Linked DNA regions of Homo sapiens: regions 1, 2, 4 and 5 are each linked to region 3. The links are contacts of gene promoters, found by promoter capture Hi-C in blood cells and fetal thymus (Javierre and others, 2016). All regions are on one chromosome and are shown on one strand. The core of a region is centred on a gene start or on the middle of the fragment in contact, and the rest is flanking DNA. Distances in the headings are between cores, read along the strand shown. Region 1 holds the start of ZNF793 (zinc finger protein 793). Region 2 holds the start of ZNF571-AS1 (ZNF571 antisense RNA 1). Region 3 holds the start of ZFP14 (ZFP14 zinc finger protein). Region 4 holds the start of ZNF569 (zinc finger protein 569). Region 5 holds the start of ZFP30 (ZFP30 zinc finger protein).

Region 1 (2,700 bases), core at 39-2,538, 1.1 Mb after region 3:
AGTCTCACAGTCCAACCCTGGTACAATGTGGGAGGGAACTACATAAGAGTGTGAATAGTAGGAGGTAGGAATCATTGGGAAACATTTTGAGGTCAGTTATTGTATCAGTTGCTAGGATGACCAGTTGGAATTAGGATTTTTTTAAAAAGCCATTTTCATAAGACAAGGCAATCTTTTCTAGAGATGTTCCAATACCTGTGATATGCGGAGCACTGCGCTAGGTGGTATTCAAGGCAGGCCTGTAGTGAATGCTGTTGGACCCAGCCACCACCCCTGAGCAATCATATGCAGACCGCTGGCTTCTTAACTGCAGACACCTACAGACTCAGCCTAAGACTTTCCCACGAGGCAGGCTCGAAGTGCTGGAGCTTTAACACCTCTGGAGTGGCCCTAAAACAATTAGGAAGAGAGATGGTGTAGACATATGTAAGCTTCATCGGCCTGGTGGTTGTGAAAACTTGGAAGTGGTTTCTACACAATCCCCCAGAGGTCCCAAGCTGACTGAGCCCTCATTGATCCAGAGCTAATCTGCTCACCTATGCACTGTATATTCGTTCCCATCGCTCCCGTCTCACTTCTCCATCCCCCACCTACCAAATAAACTGCTTGCACTCATTCTTTCCTCAGGTCGGCTTCTCGGGCAAGCCTCCTTAGGTAAAAACCTTGCTTTCAACATTTCCTTTCCATTATGCGCTAAGAACTCTGATCTCTTCCCGCTGCGGCAGCCCCGCCCTTTCCTTGCGGCTCCGCCCTTTCCGTGAAGTCACGCCCGTCCTTAGGCTGTCTCTGTCTCCCTAAGAGCGAGTCTCTTCGCTGCTCTCTAACTCCTAGAGCTGGCTCAGAAAGAGTTTCACATTGCCATAGGGGAGCTCCTAGGAGAGGCTGCACCCATTGCACGTAAGAAGCGGTAAAAATGTACGCGGCCATCTTACCAGGCTGCCGGAGACAAAGAAAGCTCAGCTTTGATGTCTGGGCGCCACCATGTTGGCCACAGGAGGTTTTGGCATCTGAGATGCTGAGTTAAGAGCAGAGACGACATCTCTGTTTAGGGATCCAGGGACACTTCCTTCTCCTTGTCCTAAAATAGCCTTATCTTTTGGTCTAGCAAAGGGCTTAATCATCCGTTTTACGGCACAGTTTTAAACATGGCCGCCCCAGGTAGGAGTCAAGTGGGCGTCGCCATCATACCTCCAATTACAGCTTTGAGAAACCCAGAATCCTGTTCACTGGAAGGTTGCCGGGTGGCGGCTGACAGCCTCAAAGTCGCAATTGAGTCTGCGCACCGGCCATTCAGGATGGGACGACCTTATACCGCGGTGAGGCGGCGTGGCAGGACGACCAATTTCAGATTCAGGGCGCGGATGCAGCATAAATGGGAAGGCACGGTTTGAGAAACGGTCAAACCTGGGACTAGTGGAGGATAGTGAGCTGCCGACTACGGTGGCCGACTGGGTCAGCTATGGGTGCCCGTGAGGGTCAATGACAAGGGAACTGAAGGGTTAAGAGATTCGGCGTCTGAGCCTCGCGGGGCCTCAGTGGTGGCGGACAGAGGTTTGCGGGAGTCAGTGGCACGGTCTCTGAAGAAGATGGATTGGGAGTGTGTGGGAATCAATAAATGCGAGTTCTGTGAAATGTCTTGATTTTCAGGGTGCATGGGGTCAGTAATAGTGGTCTTCATGGGTCTGGGGTCAGTTGGGATTTTTCAGACACTGGTTTAGAGATCTTTAAGGTTAATGATCGGAGCCCGAGAGGATCAGTGATCGGAGGTTCTAAGTTCTGTGGGCAGTAATAGTTTGGGTACTGGAATTGGTGATTGTGGAAACTTTGGGGTTCAAATGAGGGAGGTCAGTGGTGATGAATGTTTGGAGAAATGTTTTGGGCCATCGGTGATTGAGACTTACTTCATATCATCGGTGGAGGATCGGAGAGTATTAACGATTGGACTTTTGTAGATCAGGGAATGGAGAATAGAGTCAAGTGTGCTTATCTTAAAGGTACGCCTCAATGAGGCTCAGTGATTCGGACTGTCACTTGTGGGTGGGAGTGGGACTGTGAGAATCAACAATTGATCCTCAGTCGTTGGGATATCATTGGCAATCAGTGTGGATTCATGATTGGGGGCTGTGTAATTTCACTGGCAATCAGATCGGATCGGTGTTCTTTGTAGTTACTGACCTGTAGTCTCTCCTGGTCAGATTTGAACATAGGGGAATATCAGTGACTATGAAAACCTCTGAGGGTTGGAGATTGGAGGCCAGTGATTGGGGGCACTATGCGTGTCTGATTAGGAGACTTATAGGGGTTGGTGTTGAGGGTCCTGAAATGTGGAGATTGGGGATGGGAAAATCACAGATTTGAGGCTGCAAGCCTGCATAGCGGGAACACATTTCACTCAGGTGACACTCCCTAGCTGAATAGCAGCCAGTTCCTCTCCACCAAGGCCCATCTGAAAACTCTTTTTTGAACCCACACCCTTTTTATTGTTCTCTACAATAATGAAAATAATTTGAAAGGATCGCGTGCTAAACTTATCTAAAGTAACATGTTACTAAAGACGTGGCTTCTATTCTTGTTAGGGATCTAATGCATATTTTTTCCTAATGTTTCCTTTAAGGCTCTTTCTGGCAAAGGTAATGACATACGCATCTGTGCCAGCATCCCAAGAGTGAGGCTGGTTTCTGGAAATCCATTCTGACTCTG
Region 2 (2,700 bases), core at 187-2,686, 1.2 Mb after region 3:
ACCCTGTCTCGAAAAAAATCTTAAATTTATGTATCTTAAGAATATACATTAATATAGAGTTTAAATATCAAATAAAGAGGGTTTTTTAAAGTTGAAACAATGTATCAGAGGATAAAAAACCATAAAACATTTGTTTAAATTTAAAGGATTTGTTTAATCTGCCCTATTAATTGCAATTTTCACAGTTAACTAGTACTATTTTTTATTTAAATAATAGTATGTATGTAACAGAATAGTAAAGATGTAACCTGTGGATGCTGTTTTACAGCAGCAGAAACTGGAACACATGCAGTCTCATGATTGTCCTACTCTTTTGCCAGATCATTGCATTGTCTGCCCAGGCACCCCTCATCCCATCTCTCTCCATCCCTTTTCTTACCTTTTCATGTTCCTTGTCTTTTCATGACAGCATTTATCAATGTCTGAAAGTAGAATGTTGTTGATTGACTCTCTCTTCAACTAGAACATAAGCAATGAGCGGCCCAGCCTTTGTCCCACACACTGCAGTGTGTCCCACTTCTAAGAAAGTGTCCAACACACAGCAGGAACTCAGTCAGCATTTCTTGAATGAATTAAGTGAAGTGATGCATACAGGCCACATTCTGAGCTGCTGGAGGAGCCAGTAGTTGATTACCAAACTCTAGTCCTTTATCTTGGTGTCCTGATGTCCTGACTGATACACAGTTTGTAGGCAAATAGCTGGTGGGGTTTAGTAGTATGGGATAGAATAAAGGGAGATGTAATTGGGACACTCTCCACATTATCTGCCCCCATGAAAAGCTAGTTCCAGGTGTTGCCATCTCTGCCCCACACTGGGCTTGCCTTAGTCCTCGTTCCCGCCTTTTCCAGACAGCAGTGCTGAGAAGCAGGAGCCCCTGAGCTTGGAGACGCAGGAAGAGCCCTGGGAGGCCCAGATCAAAGGGAGGCAGTCAGCTCATGGAGCCGAGGAATGTTCTGCTGACACCCACCCCGAGGGTATCCGGTATGTTTCTGTGCACCAGCGACCCCTCCACACCTCACCAGATTGGTTCCCCAGCCCCGTGGGACCCAATTCCGGGTCAATTCCAATTTGATTCCAGTCCAGAATCAAATCAGAAGAGCAATCCCGAGTGCCCACCTCACGGTCTGAAGCACCTCCTCCTACACCCGGACCCAAACACGAGGTCGGCTCAAGGAGGCACTGAGGTCACGACAGTCAGGGTCCTGCGCTGCTTGTCGCATGCAGTCTCCTTCCCCGAACCGCCGCCTGCACGGCCTCCACTGTTTTCCTATTGGGCTGCAGCCTGAGAGCCCTGACAATGCGGCCCACAAACCGGGAACGCGAAAGTGCACGTACCAGGCGCGATCACCAGGCGCTAGCGCTGAGGGGGGACTCGCGTCACAGTAACCGCCACCGTTGCCGGGGGACTGGCCCCAGCGGCTTGGCCCCCAGGCGTCTGTGGCAGTGCGTCCCCTCTCCGCGGGATCGTCGCCATGGTCCTGCGATCCTAGGAGTCGGGCAAGGCCGAACCTGCCTGAAGAAACCTCAAGCGGAGATTCAAGGAAGCACCACGTGATCCCTAAGGATCCCAAAGATGCGTCGGGCATGCATGGGCGGTGTGAGGGTGCGTCTCCCTGACAGGTGTCCCCGCTGGGATTTCGAGGTACGGCCTGCCTGTGTTCCCCGGGGCGCTCTCTTTCCGGAGGGGTTTCCTGGCAGAGAGCAGAACCGCGCAGCCTCAGGAGCTGCCTGGCTGTGTGTGTTTCTGTGCGACTGTTGGATGTTTCCGTGTGTCTTTCTGTGTGTGCGTGTGAGTGTGTGTGTGGTGTGCGGTGAAAGAAATGTGGCTCGTGCAGTGAAGCGCGGTTTCTCTGTAGTTCGCCTACGCTCTGATGCGCCCGTCTCTTTGGCCGGGCTTGGGTTGCGGGGCAAGCGTTCTTTGTTTCGCTCTTGGTTCCTAAAGCCTCGGTGAAGTGGGGGGCTGGCTGCGACCCGCAAACGTCCAAATCACCTCCCCTCCCAAGCCGCCCACTCTTCCAGAAAGAAGACCAGCACACGACAACCAAGAACAAATTCCTCCAGGGGCCCATGGTCCTGCGGCACACCCAAGGCTGGACGGACCCTAGCTGTCCTGTCCTCAGTACCCCCTTGAGCCCACTTCTAATTCGGTGGCTGGCGGAGTCGCAGCTTCAGGACCTGAGGCGGGCACTCCTTCATCCTCTTCAGATTTCATTCTGGATTAAAGGATGTGTGCAGAAAAAAGGTCAGATGGGGGTGAAGATACAATCCGCTGAGGTGTGGAGGAGGTCTCGCACCTTCACCTGCAGAACAGGTGCAGACAGATGTCAAAGAAACTGTTTCCAACGCCATCCCCTTTTCCTCTTCACTGTACAACCTGTCCACACCATGGCGCTGTGCTGGCGATAGAAGACACGAGTGTTCGGAGAACCTTTGGACCGAAGACTGTCGCCTTTCTGGCCAGGTCCCCTGTTGGACCCTGGTTCCCCGAGGCACATGGGAGTGGGATGGATTGATCCTGCCTGGGCTGCGGCCTCTACTCTGTTCTCCCTCTTTTCTTGCCTTCCCTGATTCTCGTCGGCCCAGGTTTTCCTTGGTCTGGCTCACAGTCCTCCAGAACGTCCTTCACAGCAAATGTTTCCCAGTTCGTCCAGGACCACCTTGGCGGGGACGTAGGTGATGAGTGTTTCCTTCTCAACACT
Region 3 (2,700 bases), core at 133-2,632:
CTGGGTAACAGACCCAGACTCCATCTCAAAAAATACAAAAAAAAACAAAACAAAACAAACCTACTGGAAAGGGGTAGGAATTGGAATCTACCTTCATCACCCCATCATTCACTGGGAAGGAAGGCCAAAGCACCAGGTCAGTGGACAGGACATTTCAGGGGTTAAAGTCTAACTAGCTGAAGATTAACTGGAACAAGCCCGCATAGTCTGACAAAATCATATCTATTGACTGGCAGAAAGGGAGAAAATTCCACAGGAAGGGTTGGAATAGAATGGACGAGAGAGACGAGAAAAGCTCTTTCGTAAACGGTTGAGTTCCAGCTGAAAGATTCTAAGGAGGATCTAATGACAGCTGCAATCTGGAATGGCTGCTGTTTCCGAGGTGAGATTAGGAGAGGCAGGGATTAATGAGATATTGAATGCAATCATGAGTGTAATCAAGAGGGTATCCCCAGTAATAAAATGAAAACAGCAAAGCAAGTCTAGAACATCACTGGTAAGAAAACTGTAATCTCTCAAAGAGGGAGTCATTATGCCATTTTACAACTACTGCACCACCTGGGGAGAAATCATGTTTTCTATTAATTTTGCAACTGGCTTTATCTGTCTCTTCCTTCCTAGCCTGATTAATGACAGAGCTGCTTCATTGTTCAGTCCGAGCTGATTTTCATTCCACAGAAGAGGAAAGCAAATGCCCCCACGCCCAGAAAAAATAAAAATTACACTTCATGGAACAAAACGGAAACACAAACTCATCTGGATGTTGACTTGTCTATATGCAACAGCAATCATTTCCTCCTCTCCCCGCTGCCTTCCTAAAGAACAGCAGGATTGGGAAAGGAGACGGGAATCTTGAGACCGCGGGCCTTTCCTGGAGCCGGCCTTGGCTGAGCAGGACACACCCCCGCTAGCGCACTTGCTCCCTCCGTCTACTGCGCGCAAAACCCGATGGAAATAACAGGGAGCCTGGAATAAAGCTGACCCTTTCCCGTATCAGAGCGAAAGGCCAGGTACACGAAGACGGGGCTGGGATCTGTCTCCGAGTTCCCCGCAGTTTCCATGGGAGGGAGCTCGGGTAAAGCTGTGCAATCTGCAGTTCTTCAGACTGCGTCTTTTTGTTTGGGGGCCTTCATTCACTCCGGGGTTCCTGTATCTAACTCGGAGCCATTCCGGGCCGCTGGACCTGGGCGGCTCTGAAGCGAGAAGGCAGAGGACGCAACAGGGCACCCGGCGCCCAGTCAGCGCCACAAACTCCACAGCTACTGCCTCCTGGCTCACACTGAGGTCTGCGCCGCCCCCGCGCCACCCCCGCGCCCATTGCCTCGGTGCAAGCGACCAACTCACCTCTCGGAGCCGACACCAGCAGCGAAGCCGGAAAGAACTGCGAGCGGAGGCCTGTGGGAAATGTAGTCCGCCGATGGGAGGGACTGGTTCCAGCCCCAACGGGCTGCGCGGAGTGCGCATGCGCGGGGGCCGGAGCCCCGGGTGCGCTCGGGGCGGGAAGGCCCTCCGCGCTGCGTGGGGCTGAGGCGAGCTCGGGCTTGCGTTTGCTTTTGTCGCTGAGGAAGACTTTTATTTGTTTATTTTCTTGAGACAGGGTCTTACTCTGTCGCCCAGGCTGGAGTGCAGTGGCGTGATTAGAGCTCACTGCAGCCGCGACCTCCCGGGCTCAAGCGACCCTCCCACCCGAGCCTCCAGAGTAGCTGGGACTGCAGGCGCGCGCCACCACGCCCAACTCATTTTTTAAGTTTTTATAGAGACCAGATCTCCCTATGTTACCCAAGCCGGTGTCGAACTCCTGGGCTTAAAAGATCCTCCCGCCTGAGCCTCCCAAAGTGCTGGGACTACAGGCGTGAGCCACCAGGCTCAGCCGCGGAGGATTTAGAAAGAAGTTTTGGCACCAGCAGATGCCTAATATGTGTACTAAACACCTACCAGTTACTCACTGCATACACCCAAGCAAGGTGTGGGCACACATCAGGCATGCAATGAAAATACTCTCAAAGCCCACCAGAACCTGGAGCAGGACGTAAACCTAGAAAGGTCGCTCGTGCTCACTGCCCTCTCCCTTTCTCCCACTCTGTCTCTGTCTCTGTGTGTGTGTGTGTGTGTGTGTGTGTGTGTGTGTGTGTGTGTGTCTCGTATCTCCTGCAGTTGTGAATGTATTGTTCTACTAAAAATACAAAAAATTAGCCGGGCGTGGTCGCGCGCGCCTGTAATCCCAGCTACTCAGGAGGCTGAGGCAGGAAAATCGCTTGAACCCGGGAAGCGGAGGTTGCATTGAGCTGAGATCCGCCATTGCACCCCAGCTTGGGCAACAAGAGCGAAACTCCGTTTCAAAAGAAAAAGACTAACTGGAGAGGTCTGTCTCCAATGAGACTGAATTTGTCCTGTCCTGCGTTCCTTCAGGAAAGAAATGGGATAAGCCCACCAGGGACCACCCTGAGGCATCTTCTGTATCCCAAATTCTTTGATATATTAGTTAATACATGAAAGAATTTGTTCTTTCCTTAAGAATATAAAACTTTAGAAGATATTTGAAAATGCCTCGGCAATCTGGTTTCATTTTGCAAACAATAGGATATGCATGAAATAGGAGATAAATGAAAAATCTGAGCTACTTTATAACTACTAAGAAGGTGGCCAGACGCGGTGGCTGACGCCTATAATCCCATCACTTTCGGGGGGCCGAGGCGGGTG
Region 4 (2,700 bases), core at 107-2,606, 1.1 Mb after region 3:
AAAGGCGGGGGTGAAAAGATGGAAAGTAAATTTTGACAGTAGTTGCATGGCCTGTAGAACTATGAATGATTTTTGTTCTTCGAGCTTTTCTGTATTTTTCTCCACCCCACTCCACTCCCCAAATGGGGTGGAGTAGGGAAGGAGGAGAATGAGTTTAGTAAGTACACAAAACAACGTAGCTAATACACGAAAATAAAATTAAAAATAAATAAATATTAAAGTGTTGGGGATATCGATGTTTCATATAAAAACATATTTCCGGCCGGGCGCGGTGGCTTACGACTGTAATCTCAGCACTTTGGGAGAACGAGGCGGGTGGATCACCTGCGGTCAGTTGTTCGAGACCAGCCTGACCCACATGGAGAAACCCCGTCTCTACTAAAAATACAAAATTAGCCAGGCGTGGTGGTGCGCCTGTAATCCCAGCTACTCGGGAGGCTGAGGGAGGAGAATTGCTTCTTCCCAGGAGGCGGAGGTTGCGGTGAGCCAAGATCGCGCCATTGCCCTCCAGCAGCCTGGGCAACGAGAGCGAAACTCCATCTCAAAAACAAAAACAAAAAAACAACGTATTTCCAATGACCAAAGCTAAAGACATGCAGCGCTGGCACAAACGCCAAGTCTCACACATCTACACCCACAAGCACACCCTACCTTGTATCCACAGTTTTTCATTCATTCAAGATCCCACTGTCATGCACGTTTGCACGCAGGTTCATACTGAAAGATAAAAGGGAAAGCGCCTCCACGAAATCCGCTTACGGACACGATCCCGGGGCCACACTCAGCCAGACGAATGTCTGGCAAATGACAGTCACTTCACGCCAGACTCTCACAGTCCTTCACACGCCACTCCCACTGCCTCAGGGAACCACAAGCACAGGCATCGCCCCGCCCGGCGTCCTCCTCCAAAGATTGGGGCACCAGGACCGCGGGCCCCCACTCCCACCCAGCACAAAGAGTCCGGCGCTCAGAGCTAGCGGTTTCCCGAGGACTCACCACCAAGCCCGCGGACACAGGCCCCGATTCCACACTTAACGCTGCCAAAGTGGCAGAGCCGGCGCGGGCTGGGACAGAGGCGGCACTGAGGCCGGCGCTGTCGGTGGCTGAGAGCGCCACAAGTCTCGGTCCGTTACACCAGGGGCGACGCTTCCCAGAGGCCCCCGCGGCTCACCCGGGCGGGACTGGCTTCACTGTTTGCGCGTCCTGAGAAGCAGACCACGGTGTTCCAGGGCTCACAGCTCCGCGCAGGGGAGCTCAGCCTAGGTTTTGCACGAGCGGCCTCCCGCGAGCCCAGCTCTGAGAGATTGGGAGCGCAACTTGGTGCTGAGAAGAATCGAATCGTTCCGCTGCTTCCTGCGCCGAACTACATTTCCCAGAGGCCTTCGCGGCCCTACTTCCCCGACCCCACCTGCAAAAAGGCACTTCCTTCTTACAGTCGGCTGGAGCTGCAGGTTCGCAAGGTCCGTGAAGGAAGCCCGGCTCAGTGTGTTTAGTTCCGTCTTTTTGGGTCTCTACCTGAGGCTAGAATACAGCGGGGTGAAGGTGGTGAGAGCTCCAGGGCCAGTGAAGGCCGGGTCAGCTGGAGCCTTAAGGTCCTGACAGCGGCTAGAAGAGGGAGGAGTGACGTAGTGTGACTGTATGTGTGAAACTTCGGCCATGGAATTTGGAGTGGGGTTTCCAGGGCGAGAGACCCTGTCCAGTGACATCTGAGGTCGTGCGAATATGCGACCTTTTGTGTGACCATGGTCGCGTTTTATATTCTCGTGGCTGTTTGATTCTGACCTTGCAGTTTTGTCAGAGACAATGTGCATGTATTTGTTCTTTCTGGACTTCTCGATTGTGAGTGTGACAGTGTTATTGGATTTCATGACCCGGGATCGTGAGCGAAAAGTAGTGTGGCCAGACCGCCTGACTTCTAAACAGACTTGGCCTTACTAGCTGTGTCATCTCAGACTAGGTACTTAACTTCTCTATGCCTTTCGTGTTTTTTTTTTTTTGTTTGTTTTGTTTTTTTTGAGGCAGAGCCTCACTTTGTTGCCCAGGCTGGAGAGTGCAGCGGCGCGATGTTGGCTCACTGCAGCCTCGAACTCCCGGGCTCAAGCGATTCTCTGCCTCGGCCTTCCGAGTAACTGGGACCACAATCAAGGGACACTCCGCCCGGCTGATTTTTGTTTGTTTGTTAGTAGAGATAAGGTCTCGCTATGTTGCCCAGGCTGCTCTCGAACTCCTGAGCTCAAGCGATCCTCCCGCCTGGGCCTCAAAAAGTGCTAGGATTACAGGCATGAGCCGCACGGGGCCGGTCTTAATACCTTTAATAAAGAGATAATAGGCCGGACGCGGTGGCTCACGCCTGTGATCCCAGCACTTTGGGTGGGCAAAGCGCACGGATCATTTGAGGTCACGAGGTTTTTGTTTGTTTGTTTTTTAAGACGGAGTCTTGCTCTGTCGCTCAGGCTGGAGTGCAGTGGCGCGATCTCGGCTCACTGCAACCTCCGCCTCCTTTCGCCTCCCAGGTTCAGGCAATTTTTCTGCCTCAGCCTCCTGAGTAGCTGGGACTTAAGGCGCGTGCCACCACGCCCGGCTAATTTTTTTGTATTTTTAGTAGAGACGGGGTTTCACCATGTTGGTCAGGCTGGTCTCGAACTCCTGACCTCGTGATCTGCCCACCTTGGCCTTCCAAAGTGCTGGGATTACAGGCGT
Region 5 (2,700 bases), core at 1-2,500, 1.3 Mb after region 3:
TCGAAATTCTTAACCACTACACTACACCTCCCTCAGTCGATCCAAGATATACCCAAAATAAACTCATGCTGCCAGACCTCAAACCACATCTGGCTGGTACCAAAAACTTCCACTCATGAATTTCCTGGAAAAAAAGAAATCTCCACTCCTACCCCAGAACCATTAAACATATCTAAACCCTAAAAAACAAATAAAAACAAAGTATGAACATTAATCTCCAGCACGGGTATTTCCATATCATCAAGATCCTTAGAAAAACAGCGCTCACAGAGTAATTGAATTTGCAGCCTACAGTTAACTAACCATGTGTCTAACTATAGAACAGCATGAAGTGGGCACTAACAACGGGAAATCTATTAATTAGGTCCCCTGCCGTTAACTAGGTAGGGAAATCCTAAGGCCCAAATCAATGAATAAATAGATCATTCCTAAGCAGGATTTTAAACGGAAGGAACTCGAATGCATTTCACAGAAACAAAGCAGCAGCACGAACTCACAGGGAACCGGCTTTTAGAAGAGCAGCAGCGATTCGTTTCTCCTTCTCAAGCGCCTTCTCTGGAAACTGGCAGGGCTGGGGAAGCAGGCAGAGTTCAGGACACCCCAGGCTTTTCTTGACTCGATTGGAACCCACCCTCCACGCTTCCCTGGCCCCAACTAACCGCCACCTGCATGCACAAATGGAAACGACAGGGCAGAGGGTCAGCAGTCACCCGCGTCTGGGTTCGCAGCTCCGGGTACGCTGTAGTTCCGCACCCGGTTGCCCACGCCCGGGACCACCCACTGTGTCTTTTCGGAACTGTCCAGCGTGTCCTCCTAGACCCCAGACACCCACCCCAAATCTAGGTCCCAGCGTTTTGCAGGGGACCTTCATCCTGGGGCGTTCACCTCTGACTTCCCTCTTGGGCCTTTTCGCTACGGCCGAGCCTAAGTGGCTGAAGCGCGGACGAGGATGCGCGGGGCCTCGGTCTCCAACTGCACCACAGGCCGCACCCACGAACCTGGTCCGGCACAGTTACTACCGCCCGGGCCTCCAGGCCTCAGGGCTGCAGAAGCTCAGTCCCGGGAAAAAAAGCACACCGGCCTGAGGCTCCACAGGAACCTTTTCTCCACCTTGGCCCGGCCTGCAAAACCTGGCCCACTCCGCGCTCTTTTCCCTCAGAAAAGCAGCGGCCACAGTGGCGCCCGGCTCCCAGCCCCAGCCTCACCCGACTCAGAGGATAGCCCAGCCCTGGGAGTCAGCGGCGCCAGAATACGGGAGAGCGCCTGTCTCCGTCGCGAATGCGCTAGCGCGCGGGGGGGCGGAGGCAAGTCCCGCAGCTGCTCCGGGCCGGGAGGGGCGCGTGGGGCCGGGTCTCGGCGGGGATAGTCGGGCCGGGGAGACGGAGCCAGAGGGGCCGCAGTGTCCCTCGCCTCAGGCCTCTACCTGTAATGGCCGCCCCGTGACTGACCAGTGCCATTAAAGATAATCCAGGCCTGCTCCCCTGTGGACACTGCGGTCCAAAATTTAAAAAAACAATATTCCGCCTTTTTATTTTTCATTTGGTTCTCGGCTCGGAGACAGGCGGAGGCTGCGAGCCCCGCCCCGCCCCCAGCGACGCCTCACCGGAACCTTTGGAAATCGGCTTCTGCCTCGAGTGCGCAAGCGCGCGGGGGGCGAACGCTGGGGCCCTTCAGGGAGCAAGGGAGAAGTGTGGGGCCGCACCTGCCGAGGGGTCGGGAGGTTTGGAGGAGGGTGGAGGTTGGCTACAGGATCCCGATGGGGATGGAGTGTTCAAATCTAGGCCTGTAGCCGTGACCCTGGCGTGAGTTGGATGGAGGAAACCCCAGTATCGCGAGCCTGGACCAAGGCGCGGCGCGTGCTGCCTGTGGTGTTTGCTGAGTGACGGCCGCCGCGCCCCCGCGTACCTGGACCGAGTGCCTGGCCGCTGGCGGAGTAGTGTTTCCGTGCACGGGGCTGCTGCGTGCGCGTGTGCCGTTCTCTAGCGGGGGATTAGGATGGTGCCGCAGAGAAGGCTGCGCGGTGGTGCCTGACTCTGACGCTGGCTGTAGCGGGTCTCTGGGGTCTTTGCGGTTTGTGTCTGCGTTTGTGACGTACCTGACATCGGATCTGTGACTGTGGCTCTGCCTCATCCAGCGTTATTTCCAGAATCCTTCTGATAGGGCAGCGCTTCTGGTTCTGGTTTTCCATGGAGACGGTTTGTGGGTCCCTATGAAACTGAGTGTTGGGATTTTGATTATCTGCATCTGGCCCTTGTGTGCCCTCAGGACTGTGGTGTTAGGCAAGTAAAATAATTGCAGGAAAAAAAATTGGAAAGGAATAAGGTTGCTATTACTTCCAAATGATGGAATTGTAGGACTGTGTCAGAAAATTGAATAGGACACCATGAAACGGGAGGGAGAGGCATTTTATTTTCTTCCATACCTGGTCTTGGAATATTCTAACAAATGAGATTTGTTTTTTCCCCTTTGTTCCTGGATGAACTCTTGGATAAATTCAATGTCTCCAAGCATTCTTGGATAGTAAGTTTCTTTGATCTTTAGTTGAAAGATCAGCCTCATTTTCGTAGCTAAAAATACCTTTAGTAATAAAAATGTTCATTGTAATACTTCATTTAAAATATTTAAAACTTTCTTCTTTCTCCTTGATCTCTTCCAGATATCTCAAGTTTTGGTTAAGTGAATATGTGGAGTATATGTACT

The links. The method cuts DNA at HindIII sites, captures the fragments that hold promoters and counts their contacts. A CHiCAGO score of 5 or more calls a contact.
Region 1: the fragment with the promoter of ZNF793 here is called in contact with the fragment with the promoter of ZFP14 in region 3 in 5 of 17 cell types (total CD4 T cells, naive CD8 T cells, activated CD4 T cells and 2 more); the score reaches 14.7 in total CD4 T cells.
Region 2: a contact is called between the fragment with the promoter of ZNF571-AS1 here and the fragment with the promoter of ZFP14 in region 3, in 5 of 17 cell types (naive CD8 T cells, fetal thymus, total CD4 T cells and 2 more). The highest score is 7.1, in naive CD8 T cells.
Region 4: the fragment with the promoter of ZNF569 here is called in contact with the fragment with the promoter of ZFP14 in region 3 in 2 of 17 cell types (naive CD8 T cells and non-activated CD4 T cells); the score reaches 11.3 in naive CD8 T cells.
Region 5: the fragment with the promoter of ZFP30 here is called in contact with the fragment with the promoter of ZFP14 in region 3 in 4 of 17 cell types (naive CD8 T cells, total CD4 T cells, non-activated CD4 T cells and 1 more); the score reaches 7.3 in naive CD8 T cells.

Annotation. Positions count from the first base shown.
Region 1 is chr19:37,505,651-37,508,350 of GRCh38, forward strand. It overlaps ZNF793 (zinc finger protein 793), which reads left to right and starts at 1,289. Exons shown (of 8, transcript NM_001013659.3): 1 at 1,289-1,316; 2 at 2,615-2,700. It overlaps ZNF793-AS1 (ZNF793 antisense RNA 1), which reads right to left and starts at 1,437. Exons shown (of 3, transcript NR_110723.1): 1 at 1,189-1,437; 2 at 196-390. RefSeq lists enhancers at 207-998, 999-1,790, 1,356-1,505. The HindIII fragment of the contact is 7,284 bases long and covers 430-2,700 here.
Region 2 is chr19:37,547,513-37,550,212 of GRCh38, forward strand. It overlaps ZNF571-AS1 (ZNF571 antisense RNA 1), which reads left to right and starts at 1,437. Exons shown (of 6, transcript NR_038248.1): 1 at 1,437-1,643. It overlaps LOC124904708, which reads right to left. Exons shown (of 2, transcript XR_007067248.1): 1 at 380-2,700. The HindIII fragment of the contact is 14,204 bases long and covers 1-2,700 here.
Region 3 is chr19:36,377,819-36,380,518 of GRCh38, forward strand. ZFP14 (ZFP14 zinc finger protein) reads right to left here and starts at 1,383. Exons shown (of 5, transcript NM_020917.3): 1 at 1,345-1,383. RefSeq lists a silencer at 1,490-1,579. The HindIII fragment of the contact is 12,200 bases long and covers 1-2,700 here.
Region 4 is chr19:37,466,088-37,468,787 of GRCh38, forward strand. It overlaps ZNF569 (zinc finger protein 569), which reads right to left and starts at 1,357. Exons shown (of 6, transcript NM_152484.3): 1 at 997-1,357. It also overlaps a transcript of ZNF570 not described here. RefSeq lists an enhancer at 1,178-1,227. The HindIII fragment of the contact is 12,295 bases long and covers 1-2,700 here.
Region 5 is chr19:37,654,215-37,656,914 of GRCh38, forward strand. ZFP30 (ZFP30 zinc finger protein) reads right to left here and starts at 1,251. Exons shown (of 6, transcript NM_001320669.3): 1 at 1,206-1,251; 2 at 498-665. RefSeq lists a silencer at 1,207-1,396 and enhancers at 1,420-2,407, 1,807-1,856. The HindIII fragment of the contact is 13,390 bases long and covers 1-2,700 here.